Linked DNA regions of Homo sapiens: all the other regions are linked to region 1. Evidence: promoter capture Hi-C in 16 types of primary human blood cells and fetal thymus (Javierre and others, 2016). All regions are on one chromosome and are shown on one strand. Each heading gives the region's core, a stretch centred on a gene start or on the middle of the fragment in contact. The rest is flanking DNA. Distances are from core to core; before and after follow the strand shown.

What was found. Contacts are between HindIII fragments. The CHiCAGO score rates a contact against its expected background, and 5 or more counts as called.
Region 2: a contact is called between a fragment that was not itself captured here and the fragment with the promoter of RNF144A in region 1, in 4 of 17 cell types (total B cells, erythroblasts, activated CD4 T cells and 1 more). The highest score is 6.8, in total B cells.
Region 3: a contact is called between a fragment that was not itself captured here and the fragment with the promoter of RNF144A in region 1, in 2 of 17 cell types (erythroblasts and neutrophils). The highest score is 8.5, in erythroblasts.

The regions. Positions count from the first base shown.
Region 1 is chr2:6,914,267-6,918,661 of GRCh38, reverse strand. RNF144A (ring finger protein 144A) reads right to left here and starts at 1,250. Exons shown (of 9, transcript NM_014746.6): 1 at 1,040-1,250. It overlaps GRASLND (glycosaminoglycan regulatory associated long non-coding RNA), which reads left to right. Exons shown (of 5, transcript NR_033997.1): 1 at 1-260; 2 at 1,438-1,812; 3 at 2,695-2,839; 4 at 4,312-4,395. RefSeq lists a silencer at 921-1,410. The HindIII fragment of the contact is 2,406 bases long and covers 1-1,891 here.
Region 2 is chr2:8,479,495-8,483,300 of GRCh38, reverse strand. No RefSeq gene overlaps it. Among named protein-coding and RNA genes, the nearest start is that of LINC01814, 100 kb to the left of the region's middle. RefSeq lists an enhancer at 1,695-1,794. The HindIII fragment of the contact is 7,766 bases long and covers 1-3,806 here.
Region 3 is chr2:8,534,118-8,538,049 of GRCh38, reverse strand. No RefSeq gene overlaps it. Among named protein-coding and RNA genes, the nearest start is that of LINC01814, 48 kb to the left of the region's middle. RefSeq lists cis regulatory regions at 182-2,374, 2,397-3,399. The HindIII fragment of the contact is 3,873 bases long and covers 324-3,932 here.

The DNA.
Region 1 (4,395 bases), core at 1-2,500:
CTCCCGAGTAGCTGGGACTACAGGCGCCCGCCACTGCGCCCGGCTAATTTTTTGTATTTTTAGTAGAGAGGGGGTTTCACCGTGGTCTCGATCTCCTGACCTCGTGATCCGCCCGCCTCAGCCTCCCAAAGTGCTGGGATTACAGGCGTGAGCCACCGCGCCCGGCCAGTTCAATGGATTTTAAAAATTATTATTCTCTAGAAAAAAGACCACGAACTTTGGAGTGGACATCCTGAGACCTGCCTACGAAGACCATTAGGGTAAAGAAGTCACCCCTTCACCCCAGGACCAGGAAGCCTCCAGGATGGCATAAGCGACCAAACAGCTGGGAGCCAAGCACAGTGCAGGGGGCTTGGGGTCGGCGGCCGGAGGCTGGGGTGGGTAAGACCCGCAGGGAACTCCGGGGCTCGGGCGGCGGCTCATTCCCCGGGAAAGGGCTCGCGGTGGGGACCAGGGGCAGTAGCAGCCGCGGACCCCGCGCGCAGGGGATGTGCGGGGCATCCTCTTGGCCAGTTCCGACCTTCCCCGCCGGTGGCGATGCCCCGGACGCGTCGTCCTTTCCCAGACCTCCTCTTGGGGCCGAGGCTCCAGCCCCAGGGTCTGCGGGCGGGGCCGCGAACCTTGAAAGCCCCCGCCGCCAGCTCGCCCGCGGGACCCTGGCCCGGGGCGCCCTGTCCCGCGCCGCAGCGCAGACCCGCGACCGCGCAGGGCAGGCAGGGGGACGCCAGGTCCCTAAGCGCCCACTGCCCTGGGGCGCGGGCGCCGCCTGCGAGAGGCAGGGCAGGGCAGGAGCAGAGCAGGGACGAGGTCAGGGACACGGGCAGGGCAGGGCGGGCGTCCTCTGAACGGAGCCCGCGAGTCCCCGCCCGGGACGCTGCCCCCCGCCCGCTGCCACCGGGCGCCGGGGCAGGACCCAGCGGGGCAGGCGCGGCCGCAAGCCCCGAGCCCCAAGGCCGGCCGCGCAGCGCCGCGTCCCGCCCTCCCCGCTCCGCGGCCGGCCCGGGCGATGCGGACACAAAGGGGACGCGCGTCACTCTACCTGGGCCTGCTCGTCCGCGGTGCGCGGCTCTGACGCCTCCGCCCGGTACTGGCTGCGGGGTGCCGGGTGCCCGCAGTTTGCCGCCCGCGCCTCCCCGCGCCCGCGCAGCCCGCACGGCCCGCACTGCAATGCCAGCCCTGCCGCCTCCCGCCTGCCGAGAGCCCGCGCGGGGAGAAGCGGCTGCGCGGGCGGGGCGCGAGCGCGCACAGAGGCCGGGCACGCGGGAGGCTCGGCCCCGGCCCCGCCCCCGCGCCGAGCCGCACAGCGCCCCCTGCCGCCCGCCTGCGCCGGCCCGAGGCCCGGAGCCGCCCCGCAGGCCCCAGGACAGGCTCCGGCACGAGGAGGGGCTGCGGAGACCGCCCGTGCACGCTAACATGAAAATGCTATTCCTGCTTTAGTGGCCTCCAGAAGACACTCCCCTGATTCCTACACCGAGGGAACACACAGCAGCAAGCTAGGAAAGAAGGGGTGACCCAGCCCAACGCTGTAAACCAGGGCGCGAACCGGCGTTGAGCTGTGCAGCTGCGCCCTGGGCTCCAGTCCTGCTCTGCCGCAGACCCCACCGGAGCCAGCACCTGCCTCCCCGACCCTCGCTGGGGCGGCTGTGAGATGAGCCCAGAGCCTTCCTGAGCCAACCCTCGCAAGGAAAGTCTGTCTGTTCACCCCACTATCCTTGTCTTGAAGGATGAAGAAAAGAGGGCCCCCCGGGAGGTCCCAAAAGGTGGAATGGACATCTGGGATCCAAGCACAGCAATTTCTTTATTTTTCTTAAGGTATCCAGCTTGTTGGAATCTAAGATCTGCGAAGGTATTAATAGAATTCCTGCATCTTCTGCCACTCCCCATAGAAGCTTGAAGTTACACAAATGTTAAATTATACGTCAGATGTGCATATATGAACAAAACCTACGAGTGTGCATGAAATAACACCTTCTTAAATATATAGATTCTTTTTTCTGCAATATTAAATGGAAACCCCACTAGAACATCGTTTTTCCTTAATAGCATACCCTCCACACTGTGTGGTCTAAATTCAAGCTCTACCACCTACTAGCCATTAAGCAAGTTATTAAGGTCTTCGTGCTTCCATTTTCTTACGTGGAAAATGAGGTGGCAATAGTATGTATGAGTTCTTCGGAGGGATTAAACAAGTCAAATAGGCCAAGTGCCATGGCTTACACCTGTAAGCCCAGCACTTTGGGAGGCCAAGGCAGGAGGACTGCTTGAGCCCAGGAGGTCAAGGCTGAAGTGAGCTGTGTTTGCATCACTGCACTCCAGCCTGGGCAGCAGAGTGAGACTTTGTCTCTCAATAAATAAAGAAATAGTCAAATTAAATATAACTGGCAAACTAAAACAACTCCATAGTCCTTAGCTACAATTTGTCTCATTTCTCCAAAGAATTAAATCAGATGATTCTTAACTAACTCAAAGCTCTGCATAATTTGTCTTCTGCTACACATACATCTTTATAGTAAAATAAAATAAAGCTGTCCCCTCTGTATTGAGAAGTTATTCTGGTAAATATTTGACCTCTTCAAATATATGAACGAGCACTTGCCTTCTAATGCCTCAGTTTCAGATTCTTTTTAGAAATGTCATTATTCAAGAAAAATGCACAATGGGAAGAATCTTAACAACAGCACTTTGTTACTTCAGCCTCTCACTAGAGGATGAAAATCGTTCTGCATAAAGGCCTGGGCTTTATGAAAAATATATTCACACCTCCCGTGTCCGAGCTGGGATACCAAAGAAGTTCCTGGTTGAGTACTACTTATGAATGAAGGATTCAGGGGATGCACAGGTGGGTGACTGCAAATGCACAGACGTTGTGCTGTGTTCCCCACAATAAAGGGGTCTGTATTAAGATGCAGGCATTCTCATGGAACACAGACGTATAACACTCAAGCTGGGGGACTGCAAAGGAGCATCTGGGGCTGCAGGAAGAGAGTTAAGGTGCAAAAATGCCCTGACCCAACTGAGACTTGTAATTGCTCATGTGGTAATACATGTGACTTCATTCCCCTGCTCTGTCTTTGTGAATGCAACCATTGTTGGGGAGATAGTGAGAGGGGACACTGGCATTGAAAGTTTTGTTTGCAGCAGGCCTCAAAAGGCACTCAGATGCAGATTTCCCTGCAAAGACTTCCCGGCCTATCATGGAGTTCCCCATCCCTAGATCTCTGATCTCTGAGCTGGTGTAATACTTAGTCTTTGTCTGTGTTGATCATGGCATCTGCCACACTTAATGTTTGTGGCATTCACTTTCTGATGCTTAGATCTTACGATTCTAGAGAACAGCATTTTTCTACATATTCCCTCTTAGGGCCTTGAACATAATAAGTGCTCAATAAATACTGAGTGAAATCCTCTACTCTGAGCTTTGCCTCTGAGCAGCTGTCCTAGTTCTCTCCAACAAGAAGTTTGTTGGGTCTCTCAAGTTCACTTCCACCTGTCACTGTCAGTTTTCAGTCCAGCCCCTTACTCAGGTCTGGCTGGCCCATCTCCCCCAGAGGGCTGTCCCATAGAGCCCATTGTAAAGGACACTCATTGTTGCCAAGAGTTTGTGCCAATGCAGTATGACTCACCCTTCACTCATTGAACAAGCTCTTCCTGATTACCTAGATGGGCAAAATTTCCCTGCTCATGCGAAGCAGGCTGGCGACTCAGTGCTGCAGCAAATGGCCCAGAAGCTGGGAAAGCAGATAGCCGTTCTGACACTTCTCTTCTAGACAGAAAATCAAGGGAAGCTCAAGACCCACACTTGAATTTTTTTTAAAAAATTAGACAAGGGGCTGGGTGTGGTGGCTCATGCCTGTAATCCCAGCACTTTGGGAGGCCGAGGCAGGCAGATCACCTGAGGTTGGGAGTTCAAGACCAGCCTGACCAACATGGAGAAACCCCTGTCTCTGTTAAAAATACAAAATTAGCCAGGCGTGGTGGCACATGCCTATAATCCCAGCTACTCGGGAGGCTAAGGCAGGAGAATCGCTTGAACCCCAGAGGCAGAGGTTGCGGTGAGCCGAGATCGCACCACTGCACTGCAGCCTGGCAACAAGAGCGAAACTCAGTCTCAAAAAAAAAAAAAAAGAAAGAAAAAGAAAAAGAAAAGAAAAAAAATTAGACAAGGAAGTTTATGTGAATTTGTAATCACACATTCCATAAATATAGAAAATTCACTTTTTTTATTTTAAAAATTAACAAATTCCATTTCTTGTTTCTCTAGAGTAGCAGGAAATCAAATGTCAGTTCTCATTCTGACTTTCTCTCCTTAAGGACACAGAGGAATCTGGGGGATATTATGGTTCTGGGAATGTGGAATGTAACGTCTCATCTTCAGCCCATCTGTGCTACTGATCA
Region 2 (3,806 bases), core at 190-2,689, 1.6 Mb before region 1:
TGGACAGCAGAAAGAAGACTCAGTCTGCACTGGCGCCCCAGCTCCACTACATAAATGACCTGGGAGGCAGGTCTCCTCACCTGTAAAATGGGGATAATAATACCACCCACAGGATTATAAGCGAGATGACATATGAAAAGAGCTTGGTGTTGTACCATATATATAGTAAATGCCCTGTCATTGGTGTGTGTGCATACCTTGTGTATGCATGTGTTGTGTGTGTCTCTCTGTGCGCTTTCCCATCTGATAAATGTCATCCAAAGTCATTTTCAGCACTCACTTCTTAGAGCTTTGGATTAATTTATGTGTAGTATTCCTACTGGACCTATGCCGGGTAGAGTACATGGGAGTTTCTTGGTTCTGAGGAAGAGGAGGGAGTCAACAGCTCCATGTGGACACAGTTGCTCTTGCTCTCCTCTCTTCACAGCAGAAGTGGGGGATGACTGCTGGCCAGCCCTGAGGACTCTCCCTCTCCACTCTCCTCACAGTCATGAGGCTGGACCATAGCTGCCTTCAGCGACCCCGATGTCCAGGTGCACCTGCTGAGTGGAAAAGTCAATAAACAGTTGCAAATACAAATTGACTCAATGAGGGAATGATAAACTTGAGAGGAGGCTAACATTAGCATCATCCTCACCATCACCATCATCACCGTCACTATCACTATCACTGTCACCATCATCATCACCATCACCATCATTATCACCATCACCATCATCATCACAACATAATGAACAGCTGGGTGTTCACCTGGAAGCTCAGAGCCTGGTGTGGCCTGGGCCCTCCCTTTGCAGCTGGTTCCCTCCTTCTGGACTTTTAAGTGCCTGGAAACTGCCAGGTTTGCACTGGACTGTACCCCTTTCGGGAAACCACTGCTGTCACTGTTAGGTGACCTGGCTGGAAAGGAGGATGTCTGGGTGACAGGGCTTGTGGGCCATCCTGGCTATAGGAGTACGTACCATTGCAGAATCATCCCACACTGGCACCATCAGGGCCATGCAGGCAAGAACAACATAGCATGAGGCCAAATGCAAATTGTTTTAAAACACACAAATGAGCTTGGTTCAGGTGGTGCCAAAGAATTCTCTATTTCAGCAGAGAGATATTTTGTGCACTTTTACTACTATCATCCAATAAAAATGCAACTGTTCATGGAGTCATTAAGCTGTACTTTTAGGAGATGCTGTCAAGGAAAACGGGCCACAAATTTAATCTGATTTGCTAAACTGATTTTAGTTACTCCTGTCAAAGCCACATCAAACCTTCAAATCTGTGTGCTTTCTTTTGCATCATGAAATTGTTACCCTGAACACTTAGAATCAATTTGATTTGGGGATACCTTTAGTCACTCAAAGTGCCTATGTGCACTCAGGCATGTGATGTGGTTCCTGACCACAAGGAGCTATGGGGAAAGATGACGTAAGATAGAATGTGAATGGGAAAACAGGTAGCATGGGCTGGAGGTACATGGTGGGTCAGGAAGGGAGGAGATGGTGCTGGCTGCCATATGACAAGCACCTCCTCTGTCCAGGCCTGAATTGAGTGTTTAACCGTGCAGCCACACAGAACCCACGCCGAGAAGGGTCCTACACTGATGTAATGCTCTGCTGCCTCTGTTTGGAAATTCTTAGTAATTATGAACATGGCACTCTGCATTTTCATTTTTGCACCAAAGCTGTTTCCTTTTCTTTCTGCACACACAGCCAGACCATATCTTCCAGCCTCCCCTGCGGTCAGGCATGGCCATGTGGCTGAGTCTGATGGATGGAGGGTGAAAGCCATCTGCATGCCCAGCCCAGAAGCGTCTCTGTGCAGGAGTCTTTAAAACACATGAGCTTGGTTCAGGTGGTGCAAAGAATTCTCGATTTCAGCAGGGCGGTATGTTGTGCACTTTTACTGCTGTCATCCAACAACAATGCAACTGTTCCTGGGGTCACTAAGTTGTCCTTCTAGGAGATGCTGCCAAGGACAGCAGACCAGGCTCTTTCCCCCTTTGGTTAATTGGGGTCTGACCATCAGGGCAACTGTGGAAGCCAGGTTTTGAAGATGGTACAGCCTGTGCTTGAGTCTCAATAACTGCATGGAGCAGAGCTCCCTGTGCCCACTGCTCCCTTGTCCCAGCCACTTGGAACTGCCCTGGACTCTCACACGAGCATAACAGGCATCTCTGTGTTGAGTGACCGCAGCTTCAGATCTGTGGTGCCTGCAGCCTGGCCCGTGTGAATGCCTCATTTTCAGAGGAAGGAGCTTCCTCAGAAGTTTCCCAGCGGACTTCCTCTCTCAGCTTGTTAGCCAGAATTATGCCTTATGTTTTTTCCCAAACCTGTCTCATCAAGGAGAAGGGAATTGCTACGATCAGCTTGGATGAATGAGGACTTACTCCCTAGGGCCAGGGAGGGCCCTGGTCACCCCAAGCCCAGGGCTGTCCACACCTGAGCAAAACTGGGCTTTGAATCACCGGGTCTGGCAGGGACTTGTCACTGAGTAGGCAGCCAAATAGTGTCTGGGGAGGAAGAAACACTTTAAAAAAAATTTTAAAATTTTAAAAAATTTAAACCATATTAAATGACAATGACCATATTAATTTTTTGAGGAACAATAAAATATTCCCTGTAATTTCTTGTACATTGGGGAGTGAAAAAATTATACATGTTGCATAGGTGGAGAGAAACTTTCCTGGAACTGTGAGGTTTATATAGAATTAAGAATGCCACGTGTAGGTCTTCAACCATAACTACTAGTTTTCCCACCTCTTATATGGACGCAATACATTCAAAGGAGAAGAACACACAGAGTTCCCTGGGAATTGTGATTAAAATGTGCTTAAATATCAGGCAGAGAGTGATGTGGGAAGTGGTTGATGTTGATGTTGAGTTTCTTTGGAACAGTCTACATTTTTGGACAAACGATTTTCCCGCTTTATATTTGGTTTGTATATGTCAAAGGCTGCAAGTAACAGCATATCTGACTGCTTGACTCTATGGCTTTTAAGTAATGAGGAGTTTATTTTTCCTCATGTAACAGGAAGACTGGAGGTCAGTGGTTACTGGTGCTGGTTCATAAACTCGGTGATATTAGCACTAACCTTCTGCAGTTTTCTTAGAATTCTTCTCTTGTTTGCAATATGGCTGTTGGAGCTGCAGTGGTCACGTCTGGGGCAGAATGAAGATGTTTGGGGCAGGAGAGACATTTTGAACCTCATCTGTCTCATTTTACCAAGAATCCAAAGTTTTCTAGACACTGGCCCCAAAGCAGTCTCTGGCCTTGGTGTCATGTCAGAACTGAGTGACAGCCCACCCCTAACTTCAGGGCAGGCTGGGCAGTGAGGAGTGAAATTATCAAGACTGGCTTAGACAGAGGATCAGGACCCATCGCCTGGGGCTGCTGGACCCATGGCTTTTCTGAACCCAAATGGGCTTCTTCCAGTAAGATACGACAGAGGAGTGGACACTGAGTAAGCAACAAAGAGTGTATATCACGAGCTGCCAAGGGGCTGAGGGGAGAGGAATGGTTTACATAAATAAGGCAGGTGGGATTTTTGAACCTCTCCTGGAAGTTTAAGGAGGGAGGTTTGGGGCCTGGAATACTTTTGATAAAAATAAAGCCAGAGCAAAGTGAAAACCACAGCAGAGCTCCCATCTGAGCTGGTGCTGGTGTCCAGAGCTGAATCCCACAGTCTCTGCTGCCAGCCTGTGTTCTACTGCTGAGCCAGGTCCTCTAACGTGATAGGGTTGTCATTGAGTCTCTCCAGAACAGGCTGGCGAGCGTGGTAGATTATCTCTCCAGTCAACTAGACCACTGATAAG
Region 3 (3,932 bases), core at 1,011-3,510, 1.6 Mb before region 1:
GATGTCTCTCTGCCTAAGGTCTCTGGATTCCTTTCTCCCTGGGAGCCCAGGCCCTGGGAGCTGACTTGCCAGCAGAAGGGGCTGGCTGGCTGGATTGGATCTTTCTGAAAATGTTCAGCCTGGGGTCCTGTGTTTCCCTGAGAGCAGCTGAGTCCTGGCATCAGCAAGTTTAGCCTGCCACCCATGCAGGAGCCCCCTTCACTTTCTCCCCTTTCACCAAGAGCAGTCACGCCCCTGAGGCAGTATCTTACAAGAGGTGAGTCTCTGCCTGAGTTGGACCCTTTGATCCTAGGTTAAGACTGGCTTGAAAAGACAGGAAAGCTTAGGCCACGTGGACAGACAGGTCAGGGGGTGTTGGCAAGCTGACAGTGATGTGGCAGGGCCCAGGGTGGGAGGAAGGGACAGCCCAGCCCAGACTCGTGCTCTCCCAACCCTCTGCAGCCTCAGCCCCATCTGAGGAGCCCCAGCTTAGAAAGCAAGTCCTACTCTGCTCCTGGAACGGAGATGAAAAAGACAGCTTCCCAGGAGACCTCCAGTTTTGGCGATGTCAGGTTGAATGGCTGAGGGGCCTTGTGACCTCCTGAGTTCCCATCACGTCCAAGACCGGCAGGAGTCGCCTGCAGAACTTCACTGCCGTACTTCTCTCCAGAGGGTGTGATGTAGCCATCAGACCCTAGCCAAAGGGGCTGCTTTGCTCTTGTCTGTTTAAAAATTATGCTTTTAATAATCTCTCCCAAGAGTGTGACAGGCAAACAGGCCTGGAAGCAGTGATGATTTCAAATCCTGCCAAATGACCGATTCTGGGAAGTAGGGGTCAGGATGTGTGGGGGCTGGTGTTGCTGTGTGGAGCCTACCAGGAGGCCAAGAGGCCAAGAGGAGATGGGAGAAGGACCCTGAGACACATGGGCTGTGCTTCTTTCAGGAAAACCCAGGGTTGATGACAATGATCAGCAAACACGAGGGGAGGGAGGGGAAGCCTGGTGCCCAGGGCCCCAAGACATAGCTGGAGTCTGGCCTGGGCCCCATTTGGGAAAACTCAGAGGGTTGGAGGAGGTGTCTGGGGAAGAGTCAAGGGTGGGAGATGACTGAAGTCGGGGAGGCCCTGCCTGGAAAGGAGAAAGCTGCCTGCTTTGTTTCTACACTTGAAAAAATGCCAGCCAAGTTAGCCTCACAAACACTGTGGGCACAGACGGAAGAAAACAAGATATTAGGTATCTGGAGCTGGATTTTTCCGATGACCGGGTGCTTACTAATCTAATCTTCCCAGGCAGAGTGACGAGCTTGCAGATTGCAGAGAGTGATAGATGTTACCTATCTTGAGTTCAGTTGGGCCGTTGCTCTTCGCTGCGTGACAAACCTCCCCCACCCCCAAACCAGGAGCTAAAGGGAACATTAGTCCTGTTCTCTGGATGACAAGGCGGAGGACCTGGGCCTCCACGGGCCATCACATATAGCAGGGGCTCAGAGTGATGTCTTGGGGGCCCAGGCCTGTGTGATGGTGTCATGATCTCCAGGAATGGAGAACAGATGATGTGTGATGTTTTGCAGAGGACATCCAATGTGGGTGGGAAGGGGTCTGCCCAGGGAGGAAGGATCTGGACTCACGGGGCTGAGGTGAGGGGGGTCAAGTGCCCTGCAGGGCCAGAGGCACTGGCCGGAGGGGCTTGCCCAGGTCCTGGCTGGTTTGGGCCTGTTCGTCTCATACCTTCCCCAGGCCTGGCACTGGGCTAGGATGTGGATCTTATTCTGTCTCTCCGAGGCAGCAGTGGGGCGGGTACTGCTGGGTGAGCCCAAGCCCGGGGCTGCCGCCGACTTCAACACTGAGCTCTCAGCCTCCCACGTGCCTCCCGCCCCCTGGGCCGCTTCCCCCAGAGATGAGTAAAGGACTGAAAAATTAGAACCAGGAGGGAAGTTTGGGGGAAGGTGAGGCTGCAGGCTGGTGGTGAAGTCTGCAAGCACAGGAGGATTACGGCTTTTTACACGAAGGGTGTTGGGTGGGTGGTTCTCTCTCCTCTGCTCTGGACAGAACACAGGAAGCTGGCTTGGATGGCAGCACCGAGCCTTCGAGCTGGGGTAGGGAAGAGATCTTGCCAGCAAGGGGCAGATATGCAAATGAGTTACTAGTAAACCTCCGTGTGTGGAAGTCTCAGAGATGGGCTGGTGATGCCTGGTAGCCGTGACCACCTGCAGCAGAGTTCCAGGATTTCTGCAGGGACCACTGTGGGAGCCCCCCGGGCTGCGTGAGAATCCCCACCAGTCACTGAGTCAGTCCAAACCTTGGTGTCCCTATCTGTGTATTGACACAAACGTTTCTGCTCATGAGACTGCTGTGAGGATTGGAGAGATACTGTGTGTTTTCAGATCGAAAGTACCACACACGTGCGACCCTCAATGCACACACGTGCACACGCATGGACCCTGGCAGATGCGCTGGGTCCAGATGAATCATGGAATGTGCTGGGGTGTGCTCTGCTCCCCTCCTCAGCCCCCTTCCTCTCCCTGGACTTTCTCGAGTCAGAGCAGAGATCCTCTGGGGCTGAGTTCAGTTGCATGGAGCCAGGGGAGCCACAAGGGCCTGGCGCTCTACGCCTCCCTCCTGGGCTTTCTCCCCCAGGCCTGGGAGCGGAGGAGACATGGAAGCAGCTGGGTGGATCCAGCCAGAGGTGAGAGTATAACCAGCAAAGCAGCATTTGCAGGCTGAGATCTCCTCCCCCTGCTGCAACTTACTGGGAGCGGGGCCTGTTGCACAACCAGGCCTGCCTGGACGTTCACCAGGAGCTTACCCAGAGGGTGGCTGGGGGCCCAGGACCTTTCTGGCTGCAGTGGCTCCAGGCCTGGGCCACCCCTCACCCGCTCAGCCTGGACCTAGGCCCTGCTGGCTTGGCCCCATCTCGGGACTGGCCTGGGCTGGGGTGGGGCTGTCCTCTGGCTCCTGTCTTTGCTGACCCTGCAGGCCAGCCCTTGCAGCTGTAAGGGGTTAATTAACAGTCACGCCGGGCAGAAGGGTGGTAACCAAAGGGGAAAAAGTGGGGAAGTGACAAAAGTTGAAGAAATCTCACAGGGCCCTCACAGCTGGGGGCTCTAGTTCCTGATTCTCTTGCTGAGACGGTGCCTGACGGCAGCCCTTGGCCTCTGCCTCCCCTTCCACCCCCGCCAGTGAGGGTGCAGGTTCCCCTCCCGACACATCCCCCCAAGCACCCCTGACTCAGCTCCTTCCACAGCCTGCAGATCCCGCAGCGGGTGGCTGTGGGGCTGGGAGTCTGGTCAGGGGTCAATTGCATTTCCTCGCTGGTCTGCCCTGGATGCTTCCTACTCAGAGGCCGAACATCTGAGTCTCAGGGAGGTCAAGTGACCAGCGGTGTGCCTGAGCTCATGGCCAGTGGTGTGGCTGGGATCCAACCCCCGCCTGCAGTGGGGCTATGCCGCCGAGTTCCTTACTCCTGAACTCTGCAGAGGGGTCTGGGGAATGGGCGAGAGGGTCCACAGCCAGGAAGGCTGTCATGCACGCAGTGGAGCTTTAGTGCGCCCTGTCCTGTCCGGGGTGGGAACCGGTGAAGGACTTAACCTGACAAGGGACAGAAGTGCCTCCCCACGAGAACTCGTCCCTTTGAGCAGCCACTCATGGACCCAACAGGATAGGAAGCACCTGCAGCCCTCTCTGCAGGGAAGAAGCCCTGACTCTGGGGAAGAAGGCCTCCCTTGGGTCTTCTCTTGGGTCCTCTTGCTGAGATTTGGACCCAGGGCTCATGCCCATTAGCCTGGGAGTGTCTCTCCTGGTCCTCCTGCGTGTCCTGTCCTGACAGAGCGGACATGCATTTCTCCAGTGTGACCACATCGGGGCTGAGTTTAAAAAGCCAAGTCCCATTTCTAGCTGGTAGTGTTGAGAAGGAAGCCACATGGGGTGGTGAGGAGGTGGGTGGAAGAGGGGGGCC